2 separate regions of the Homo sapiens genome follow, and region 2 is linked to region 1. The links are contacts of gene promoters, found by promoter capture Hi-C in human tissues and cell types (Jung and others, 2019). All regions are on one chromosome and are shown on one strand. The core of a region is centred on a gene start or on the middle of the fragment in contact, and the rest is flanking DNA. Distances in the headings are between cores, read along the strand shown.

The links. Contacts are between HindIII fragments. The study calls those that stand out against the background at their distance.
Region 2: a contact is called between a fragment that was not itself captured here and the fragment with the promoter of DZIP1 in region 1, in 1 of the 25 tissues and cell types used here (mesenchymal stem cells).

Annotation. Positions count from the first base shown.
Region 1 is chr13:95,643,456-95,649,084 of GRCh38, reverse strand. DZIP1 (DAZ interacting zinc finger protein 1) reads left to right here and starts at 4,379. Exons shown (of 23, transcript NM_198968.4): 1 at 4,379-4,708; 2 at 5,387-5,484. It overlaps LOC124903194 (a long non-coding RNA gene), which reads left to right. Exons shown (of 2, transcript XR_007063840.1): 2 at 251-374. RefSeq lists an enhancer at 4,167-4,216 and silencers at 4,307-4,416, 4,507-4,596, 4,657-4,766. The HindIII fragment of the contact is 16,516 bases long and covers 1-5,629 here.
Region 2 is chr13:95,772,400-95,778,028 of GRCh38, reverse strand. The region is part of intron 9 of DNAJC3 (DnaJ heat shock protein family (Hsp40) member C3); the gene reads right to left. Among named protein-coding and RNA genes, the nearest start is that of DNAJC3, 98 kb to the right of the region's middle. The HindIII fragment of the contact is 7,229 bases long and covers 1-5,629 here.

The sequences.
Region 1 (5,629 bases), core at 3,130-5,629:
TGGGAAGGAAGACATGTATTTTGTATGTGAGAAGGATATGAATTTTGGGGGCCACAGCAGAATGCTGTGGTTCGAATGTGTCCCTTCCAAAATTCAGGTGTTGGCAATGTGATGGTATTAAGAGGTGGGGCCTTTAAGAGGCAATTAGGCCATCAAGATGCCTCCCTCATTAATGGGAGTAAAGCCCTTATAAAAGAGGCTTCATAAAGCGTTCTGCTCACTTGCTCTTTCACTCTCTCTTGCCCTTCAGCTTTCTGCCATGTGAGGACGCTACCAGAAGGCCCTCATCAGAAACTCAAACCTGCAAGAGCCTTGATCTTGGACTTCCCAGCCCCCAGAAGTATGAGAAAATAAATTTCCATTTTTATAAATTACCCGGTCTCAGGTACTTTGTTGTAGTGCCACAAAACAGACTAAGACATATCAATAGAAAGAAGAATATGAGTGTGTGTGGGTGCTAAGCAGCGAAGGAGTTGGATTTAATGGACATTGCATTTGTCTTGTTTTCATATTTCTCTATATAGGTACCTTCCTTTGAGGATTGCTACAGTCTTTTTCAAGTAATTATGGTGGAGCTGTCATTTACACCCTGCGTTTAGCCAAACCACTGGTTGGGCATGTGACTAAGTCAATTAGAATCTTTCTCACAGGAATTTATTTACCTATTTATTTTTGAGATGGAGTCTCACTCTGTCACCCAGGCTGGAATGCAGTGTTACAATCTTGGCTCACTGCAATCTCTGTCTCCTGAGTCCAAGTGATTCTCCTCCCTCAGCCTCCTGAGTAGCTGGGACTACAGGCATGGGACACCATGCCTGGCTAATTTTTGTGTTTTTAGTAGAGATGAGGTTTCACCATGTTGACCAGGCTGGTCTCAAACTCCACACCGCAGGTGATCCGCCTGTCTCGACCTCCCAAAGTGCTGGCATTACAGGCGTGAATCACTGTGCCCAACCCTCCCAGGAATTTAATTGTTATAGTGGCAGTGAATGCAATTGAAGTTGAATTATCACAAGAACAGTTCCCTGTAATCCACAGAACAATCATGAGATGTGGGAGGTTCTAATGGCAGTTAAAATTCGATTTTTCTGCATAAAAGAGAATATCCAGATAAATGTCTTGAAAAGGTTTCTCACCTGGAAGAGATGTCTAGATGCAGGTGGTTCAAGACTGATATGACCCCTTTACAACATCATTCTGCCTTCCCATCCTTAGTATGTGGGTCTGACTTTCAGGTTCCAAGTGTGAAAGAAAATAAAATCTTGGGACCCCAAACTCACTATGCCAAAGGAGATTTGAGCTTGGCAACTGAGTTGGGGCAATACTGCCTACCATTTTGTTTCCAAACAGATGGTTGTAATTTCACAATTCCATGCCAGAGCCTTATATATAAGTCAGATTCCCACAATAATAGAAGGCCATACACCTTCCCAGATGGCCTCCCTCACAAATTACAAAGAAATTCCCTGCAAGCCCCTAAATACATTTCTCCCTATAAACCAGCCCTAAAATCTGTTAAATCTCACAGTGACTGGTATGAGATGGTTTCTCATTGTTTTGATTTGCATTTTTTTGATGATTCGTGGTGTTGAGCATTTTTTCATACGTATGTTGGCCGCTTGTATGTGTTCCTTTGAGAAGTGTCTGTTAATGTCGTTTTCCATCAGTCAGAATGGCAATTAGTAAAAAGTCAAAAAACAACAGATGTTGGCGAGGCTTCAGAGAAAAGGGAATGCTTATACGTTGTTGGTGGAAATACAAACTAGTTCAGCCACTGTGGAAAGCAGTTTGGAGATTTCTCAAATAACTTAAAACAGAGCTACCATTCAACCCAGCAATCCCACTACCTGGTATATACCCAAATGAAAATAATTCATTCTATCAAATAGACACATATACCCATATGTTCATCACAGCACTATTCACTATAGCAAGGGCGTGGAATCAATCAAAGTGCCTGTCAACAGTGGATTGGATTTAAAAAATGTGGTACAGGCTGTTCTGCCTATGGAGTACATTTTTTTTTTATTCCTTCACTTTCTTAATAAACTTGCTTCCTTTTTTTTTCTTTTTTTTTTCTTTTTCAAGACAGAGTCTCCCTCTGTTGCCCAAGCTGGAGTGCAGTGGTATGATCTCAGCTCACTGCAGTCTCTGCCTCCCAGGTTCAAGTGATTCTCCTGCCTCAGCCTCCTGAGTAGCTGGAATTACAGGTGTGCACCACCATGCCCGGCTAATTTTTGTATTTTTAGTAGAGACGGGGTTGCACCATGTTGCCCTGGCTGGTCTCAAACTGTTGACCTGAGGTGATCTGCCCACCTTGGCCTCCCAAAGTTTTGGGATTACAGGTTTGAGCCACCTCACCTGGCCTATTATTCTTTAAACCATGTATATAAAACCAAGGTTAGGTATCTGAAATGGGAATATGAGGCAAAATAATTAATATGTATTGAATCAGACAACACATGTGATTTCTGCCCTTCTTTATTTATCGCCTTCATACTAAAGGACATTAGCCAGGTAATATCAATAACTATTTTCAAATGAGAGAAACAGAAACAATCATTTGAAATAAATTCAGCTACAATGCTTTTGTTTATTTACTGTACAAAATGATTAATGTTCACCAGTATTATTATTTCATTCTTTAGGATCATTTCTGTCTTCAAAAAGCAAATATTTATTTGAGGACTTACTAAATGCTCAAAATGCTGGAATACTTGAGGTTCTTATAGTCTGACCGACGAGAGAGATACCTTAATCATTAAAAATATGTATACCATTATACAATTGGTAAAAGTGGTTTGTGCATAGATCAAGAATGCATCATGGCTGCTAAGTCATGCCAAAGTCAATTGATTCTTCTTATTCCAATTCTACACCTGTAGGGTAATATACTGACAGTGGGGATGGGAAATACATGTAACTCAAATGGTATGTCAACAAATAATATTAATTAAGCAATCATCTCTCTCTCTCTCTCACACACACACACAGACAGCTACCGAGTTTGCAAAAACCGGATTTTGCAGAGCAATGGTCCTATCTATCTCATATTGTCTGAAATTCCTTTCTTTTTTTTTCTTTCTTTCTTTTTCTTTTCTTTTCTTTTTTCTTTTTTTTTTTTTTGAAACGGAGCCTCGCTCTCTCGCCCAGGCTGGAGTGCAGTGGCGCGATCTCGGCTCACTGCAAGCTCCGCCTCCCAGGTTCACGCCATTCTCCTGCCTCAGCCTCCCGAGTAGCTGGGACTACAGGTGCCCACCACCATGCCCGGCTAATTTTTTGTATTTTTAATAGAGACGGCGTTTCACCGTGTTAGCCATGATGGTCTCGATTTCCTGACCTCGTGATACACCCGCCTCGGACTCCCAAAGTGCTGGGATTACAGGCGTCAGCCACTGCGCTCGGCCTATTGTCTGAAATTTCTATCTAGAAATCTTTCCCCATAGTACTTAGAGGATTTTTATAGAGATCTTGAATTTTCTTTCAAAATAATTTTAAAATTAGACCAATTTAAAATCCCATCATGGTCATCTTGGCCTTATGGCTTCAAATAAAACTAAAGCAAGGAATTCAACATAAATACATATTTAGCTGTTGCTATGTTTGAAGCCTTGTGCTAAAGTATGGTACAAAGTTGATTCTGTCAGGGAGAAGCACAAGGAAAGGCACTTTTACAACGGCATGTTGGTCCAGTAAAAGTTCTGCAGCTACTCCTCTCTAATTTAAAAACATATATATATATATTATATATATATATATATATAGCTGCATTAGACACTTAGGTTTTGCAAAAGATGCCTTCATTTCTCATGATGGTATATACATACGTTCTGGATTACTTGTTACTTAAAAATACTGACTTTTGTCCCACGTGTTCCAATTTTAGGTTACATAAATGAGCACACTACTCCGGACCCACATCTCCTGTAATTCAGTGCCTAACTTTCTACCAACAAAGATCCGTGCCTTTCATCCTGAAGTGGGCATAACGGAAAGAGACGCAGAAACCTACGTGGGTTTAAATCCTAGAGGGCTTTGGTGAAAAGTCCCTAATCTCGGTTTTCCACGTCACTCAAATGCAGGGCCACATTAGATAGCCTTTTCAAGGTCCTTCGCATCTGCAGACTTCTGCGATTAAAACGCATCTCTTTTTGGAAGATAATTCACCTGAAGCTCCTCTGGGAAATTAGCTTGCTGAGGGCCAGACCAACAACCGGGTAGGAGCGAATCTGGTTTCTCTTTGAAAAGCCTTCCTAGGGTTAGCATCCAGGGCCAGCAACGGAGCGCGCCCCCGAACCACGTGTCTGCGCCAGCTGCCGGATTGGCTGAGCGCATTTTAGCGCTGCGGTCTAGACGCTCGCGGTCCCGCCCAGTTGCCAGAGGAGCCGGGACACCGAGGGAAGAGGCCGGAGGGAGATCGCGGAGGGGAGGGGGCGGGAGGGGGGTGGGGTATCCTGAGTCGTCCGTGGTCCGGAGTCTGGAAGGCCCTAGAGCGGCGCCAGTCGACCCGCCTCGCCACAACTTGCCCAGACCAGACACGTTTCATCCTGCGCCCTGCAAGAAGGAGCCGGCCTGCCTCTCTCCGCTTTGCTGCTCCTCGGCCTCCGCGGGCCCGGCCCGCGTCAGCAGCGACCCTGGGGTCTGGGTCCCCTGTGTCGCCCCCGCCCGCCTGCAGCGCCCGGCACCCGCCCAGGAGCGCGCAGCTGGGGTGAGCCGAGACCGGGGATGCGCCAGGCGCCCACAGGAGGTGGCTGACGGGGCATCCCGATACCCGCGAAGCCGGCCCTCCTGCCTCTCCAGGCTGCGAGCCGAGCCTCTGCAGATCCAGCTGGAGTAGCCGCCGCTGCCCCCACTGCCTGTTTGCCTTCCAAGGAAGGGCGCCGAGGTTCCCCTGGAACCCGCGTCTCTCGGCTTTTGTCTGCTGGTTCGGCTGCCCGGCGGTGCCATGCGCCTGGGACTTGAGGCGCCGCGCAAGGCTGGGGGCCCTGCCCGGGATGGGGGAGGGAGGGAACGGGAAAGCATGCCCCCTTCTTTCCTGTTCCGGCCATCTTGTGACCGAGATCCACGCAAGGGGAAAGGGGTGGTCAGCGGCACGACGCCCCACGATGGAGTGTGGCGGCCAACGGAGATGGGTACCTCGGGCCCGCAGGCCTCTGCGCCCAGATCTCAGCGGGGGCGCGCGGGCCACCCCCACGTTCAGCTCTGAAGCCCTTGGCCCAGATCATGGGTTAATCGTTCTAACAGGCCAGAGGCAGCAAAAATAGGAGGGATAAAGGGCCAGGAGCTGATGTTTCCTTAACTAAGCGCCTAAGTCATTCGATCGTTCTTCATTCACGTGTCCATTCAGCAAATTCTGAACGCCTTCTCCGTGCCTGTCCTCTGCTAGGTTCTAGGGACGTATACTTGAGCAAGAGAGACCACAGCTCTTGTTCCCGCTGATCCTGCAGCCCAGTGGATGGAGTCCAGAATCTACAGACCTGCCAGGTCGGTGTCTTGATGCTCTTAAACAGATGGAGGAAGCTAAGTCTTAGAGCTGACAATTTGTTCTAGATCAGGGAGCAAGTAAGTGACAGAATCAAACTTTGAAACTATTTATGTCTTTAGCACTTTTTATGCCTGGTTGCAGGGA
Region 2 (5,629 bases), core at 2,219-4,718, 130 kb before region 1:
ATTTTCATATTTTGTGAATTTTTCAATTTTCCTTCTGTTACTGACTTCTAGTTTTATTCCATTTGGGCCATAAATCATAGTCTATAAAATTTCAATTTAAAAAAATTTGTTAAGACTTGTGGTGTCACACGTGGTCTATCTAGGAAAATGTTTCATGAGCTATTGAAAAGAATGTGTACTCTGCTGTCTGAATACATTTGTTAGGTGTAATTGTTTTATAGTGCATTCAAGTTTTTTGTTCCCTTCTTAATATTCTATCTTGCTTTATTATTCATTACTGAAAGTGGGATACTGAAGTATCCTACCATTATTATATTGCTGTCTATTTTTTGCTTCAATTCTGTCAATATTTGCTTTATGTGTTTGGGAAAACTGATGTCAGATATATTCATAGATTCTCAATGAATGAACCTTTTTATTATAATTTAATGTCCTACTTTGTCTCTTGTGAATTTTGACTTAACTAAATTATATAAAATACTTTTTTAAAAGGCTGAGAAAAAATTATAGCTAATGATGACAAGGCAAAGGAAATACAATTCATGTATAACCTGTATGCAGAAAACTAAGCTGAAAAAGAAACAAATAGAAGAGACCAAAACAGATTAAGAAAATGTTCCTGAAGTGAAAGATGGATCTAGACTGAAAAGGTGCACTGGGTGCCAGGGCAGCCTGGCTGAGAATGGGCAACAAGAAGACATATCCTAGCATAATTCAGACTTGAAGATAAGGGCTCTTTGGACGGCCAGGCCAAAAACAAAAAACCTGGCCCCAGGTTTTCCATAACATTAGTCCCAGAAAAGAACAGAACAATAACTACGAGATACATGGCACAGGGGTGAGGGAAGGACTTTATTATCCAGCCACGCTATCATTCAGATATAAAAGGTACAAGTACAATCTGTATTGAACATAGAAGAAAGCAGGGAAAATTCTCTTAGGACCTCCCTGAGGAAACTACTATAAGATGAACTCACCAAGTGATGGCTGAAGAAACCATGGCCAAAGGAAAACCAGTAGACACTGAATTTCACGTAGAACCAAGACTAACACAAAGCAGGGGACTAACAGCGACAGAGCAGAGCGTGTGCCCTGATGGTGCAGAAGGGATACAGCTGACGAAACATGGGAAAAGAAAGGGGAAGGATGATGAGGGAGTAAGTTCATTCATTCCCACCTACATCAGCTGAAGCAATCAGAAAACATCAGCCACTGATAAATTGAGTAATATTACAAAGGCAAATCCTAAAAAATTTCCTCAACAAATTATTAAGAGGTGGAAGAACAGTGAGGAAGAGGAGGAAGTACACTAAATTTTCCCTCACAGTAGGAAACTAATGGATGTTGCCAAAATAGTGTTAATAAAACTATTTTTAAAAGTACAAAAATACAAACTTTCCTAAATATCAGGAGCGTATACAAAATACAGGCCAAATCGCAAAAAGATTTCAGCAAAACAGAATGATAGAATGTTGACCAAACATCTGTCATATCGATCAATGCAAATGTGCTAAACTAACCTATTTAAAAGAATTTCATTGGCTCAAAAAGGAAAGCCCACACAAAACATTTTCACAGAGAAAGCTGTCACTAAGCCACCTCCCAGTAAAGCAGCAGTCTTTCCAGAGATTGTTCCAAACTTTTACACCACAGGTGATTCCAGTGTCTCCAGAACACTGAAAAAAGAAAACTTCTAAACAATTGCACTGAATCCTTACCCTAATTAATAGTTTACTATACATAAAAGTCTGTGTTAAAATTCATTTTTCCTCTGAATTTCTGAGAAGCTGCAATACTCCCTTCCAGCATCAGACGCATTCATATCACTTTTTGAGGATGCACTTTAAGCAAAATAAAAAAAGAATCCAAGAAAGATGAAGACATTATATTAAATTTTTAAAAAGAAGACAGAAAAACCCAGAAAGGCAGTGAAAGGAGTTCTGGGGCAAAAGATGTGCAGCAGGCCAGGCACAGCCAGGAGTTATAGGGCTAAAGAATATCTTCAGAGTGAAAAGAAAAAAAAAGTATATATATATATATAAAAAGAGTATCTTCACAGAGAGCGGATCTCATTCATACAAACTGTCATTAAAAATCTCAAGATGTTCTTAGTAAGACAGAGGCATAGGTTTCTTCTGGCAGAGAGACAGTAACTCTAACTCGGGGTGACGCTTTCCAAAAAATCCTGCTCCAAATGAGAAGCATACTAAAAGTGTGGCCATCTGTGAACAAGAGACTCCATGTATCTGACCCTGGTTGGTGAAATGATTGCATCTCCTTCTCTAAGGATTCAAACACATGACTTGATCCTGCAGCTATACAATACATTAATCTACTAAATGGCTTTCATTTCCTTACTATACACAATTATAGTTACAGGAAATAATCTACATACTACAAACATTATAAAAGTATACTAACACATACTTAAAATGTAGCTGAAAGGTAAGATGGAAATATACTAATTTCCTTATTATCAGTAGTATACAATCGAGATGCTATCTAAAGGTGACAGGGTAAGAAAGAAACTTGGGTATATTAAAACTTATTTATATTACATTAAAGCTGTAAATATAAGCAAAAGATCAAATACTCAACTAAAACTGAAGGTGAGAAAGAACAAAAGGAACTAGTGAGGTCTACTCAGTTCTTCCTCTTCTGTAGCAGGCAGACAAGGGATACTGCCTAAAATTGATAAATCAAGAGCTAGAGGAAGACATATTTTAATTTCAATTATAGTGGTAACTAATAATTAGAAACTATTAAACTAATATTAGAAATTTATTTAAAACGTCGTTACAGTCAAGTGCAGGACATGCACCTACAGTCCCAGCTACTTGGGAGGCTGAGGCAGGAGGACTGCTTGAGGCCAGGGGTTTAAGACTACAATGCAATATAATCACACCTGTGAATAACCACTGCACCCCAGAGGGGATACTAGAAATATTCAAATAATCTAAATGACAACAGAAAGAGAGGAACAAAAAATTCAAAAACAAAAGGACAAAAAGAAAACAATAGTAAAATGGCAGACCTACATACAACCATATCAATAATCACAGTAATATTGATCAAGTAAACACTTCAAACACAGATTATAATTATAAAAATTGACAGAAACAAAGCAAGTTCCAACTACATGATGTCTATAAGAGACATACTTATAAAGGCACAAAGACACTCAAAGTAAATGAATGAAGACAGACACACCATGCAAACAATAAGATCAAGAAGGCAGAGGTGATTCTATTAATATCATATAAAACTTCAAGAAAAAGAGTATTGCCAGTGATCAACAGGAACACTGAGTAAGAATAAAAGTAAAAATTCATCAGGAGAACACTTGACAGTCATAAATATGTAGGCTGCTAATAGCAGAGCTTCCAAATGCTTGAAGGAAATATTGACAATATTAAAGACAGACAGGAAAGTTCACAATTTCCACAACAGATTATCAAAGATCTTAACAACTCTCACCTTATACCTGATGGAAAAACTAACAAATATTACACCCAACAATTGCAGAATACACCTTATTTTCAAGTGTACATAGAATATTCATCAAGGTAGATACCATGCTGGACCACAAAACAAGCCTAAATAAATTTAAAAGGAAGGAAATCACACCTAGTATGTTCTCTGACCACAATGGAATTAAATTCAAAATAAATAATAAAGTACCTAAGAAACCATCAACTATTTGAAAATTAGAACACCTATACATAATCCATGCATCAAAGAAGTCAGAAGGGAAATTAGAATACACTTCAAGCCAAGTTATAATGAAAGTAAAACAAAATGTGAAAGGTGCAACTTTAAATGCTTATATTTAAAAAGAAAGAAAGGCCTAAAATCAATGACTGTTCTAGCAAAAGCACAAGGTACAACCAAAGTAAGTCTAAGGAACTAAAGAGCAGAAATCAATAAAGTAATAAAGAAAAGCCATAGAAACCATTAACAAATCCCGAAGTTGGTTCCTTAAAAAGACCAACAAGGCCAGGCACCGTGGCTCACGCCTGTAATCCCAGCACTTTGGGAGGCCAAGGCGGGTGGATCACGAGGTCAGGAGATCGAGACCATCCTGGCCAACATGGTGAAACCCCGTCTCTACTAAAATACAAAATATTAGCTGGGTGTGGTGGTGCACACCTGTAGTCCCAGCTACTCAGGAGGCTGAGGCAGTGGAATCACTTGAACCCAGGAGGTAGAGGTTGCAGTGAGCTAAGATCGCTCCACTGTACTCCAGCCTGGCGACAGAGCAAGATTCTGTCTCAAAAAAAAAAAAAAAAAAAAAAAAGACCAACAAAATTGACCAAACTTTGTCTACAATGATCAACAGGAAAAAAAGAAAATACAAATTATTAATATTAGAAACAAAGCAGGAATAATCTTACAGACCTTATAGACATTAAATAATAAGATAATATTATGAACTTCATGCCAACAAATTCAGCAATGTCAAGAAATAGAAACATTCCTTAAAAGATGTAACTTACAAAAACTAACACAGATGAAACAGAAAATATTAATAGCCTTATACTGAATAAAACTAAATAAGGCCAGGTGCAGTGACTTAACGCCTGTAGTCCCAGCACTTTGGGAGGCCTAGGTGGGCAGATCACTTGATCCCAGGAGTTTGAGACTAGCCTGGGCAGCATGGCAAAACATCATCTCTACAAAAAATACAAAAACTAGCCAGGTGTGGTGGCATGCACCTGTAGTCCCAGCTACTTGGGAGGCTGAGGTAGGAGGATCACTTAGCCTGGGAGGTCGAGGCTGCAGTGAGTCATAATTGTGCCACTACATTCCAGCCTGGGTGACACAGCAAGACCTTGTCTCAAAAAAAGCAAAAACAAAATGAAAAAAAAAAAAAAAACTAAATTTGTCAAAAACCATCCTACCAAAAAAAAAAAAAAAAATCAAAAACCAACTTCCAAGACCAAGATGGTTTTACTGGTGAATTCTCTCAAACTTTAAAGAAGAGATGACACCAATCTTATATGACTCTTTCAGAAAATAGAGGAGGGACAATTTTGAACTGTTTGAGTCCAGTACATCCTTAACACTGAACTCTGACAAAGACATTACCAAAAAAAGTTACAGAGCAATTATCCCTCATGAACATAGGTGCACACTTCTTAAAATGTTAGCAAATCAAATCCAGCAATATCTAAATTCCTGTCCAAGAAGAGTTTATCCCAATAATTAAAGGTTGATTTAACTTTAGAAATGTCAGTTTAATTTACCACATTAATGGAATAAAGGGGAAAACATAAATATATAAATAAGTTCAACTCTGTAACAAAAAGAAACAGCAAATATTTTTAAGTGGGTAAGCATGTGCAGAATGCTTACTTCACAAAGTAAGATATTTAAACACAGAAACAACACATGAAAAGTATTCAACAACCTTAGTCATCAAGGAAACAAACATTAAAACCACAATAGATACTAACACACACCAAAATGGATAAAACTAAAAAGAATGAGAACACAAAATGTTTGCAAGGATGCAGAGCAACTAGAACTCTCATACTTTATTGTAGCTGTATAAATTATATATTACCTTAGAAAGAGTCTGGCAGTTTCTTTTAAAACTGAGCAAGCACCGTACACTATGACAGCAATT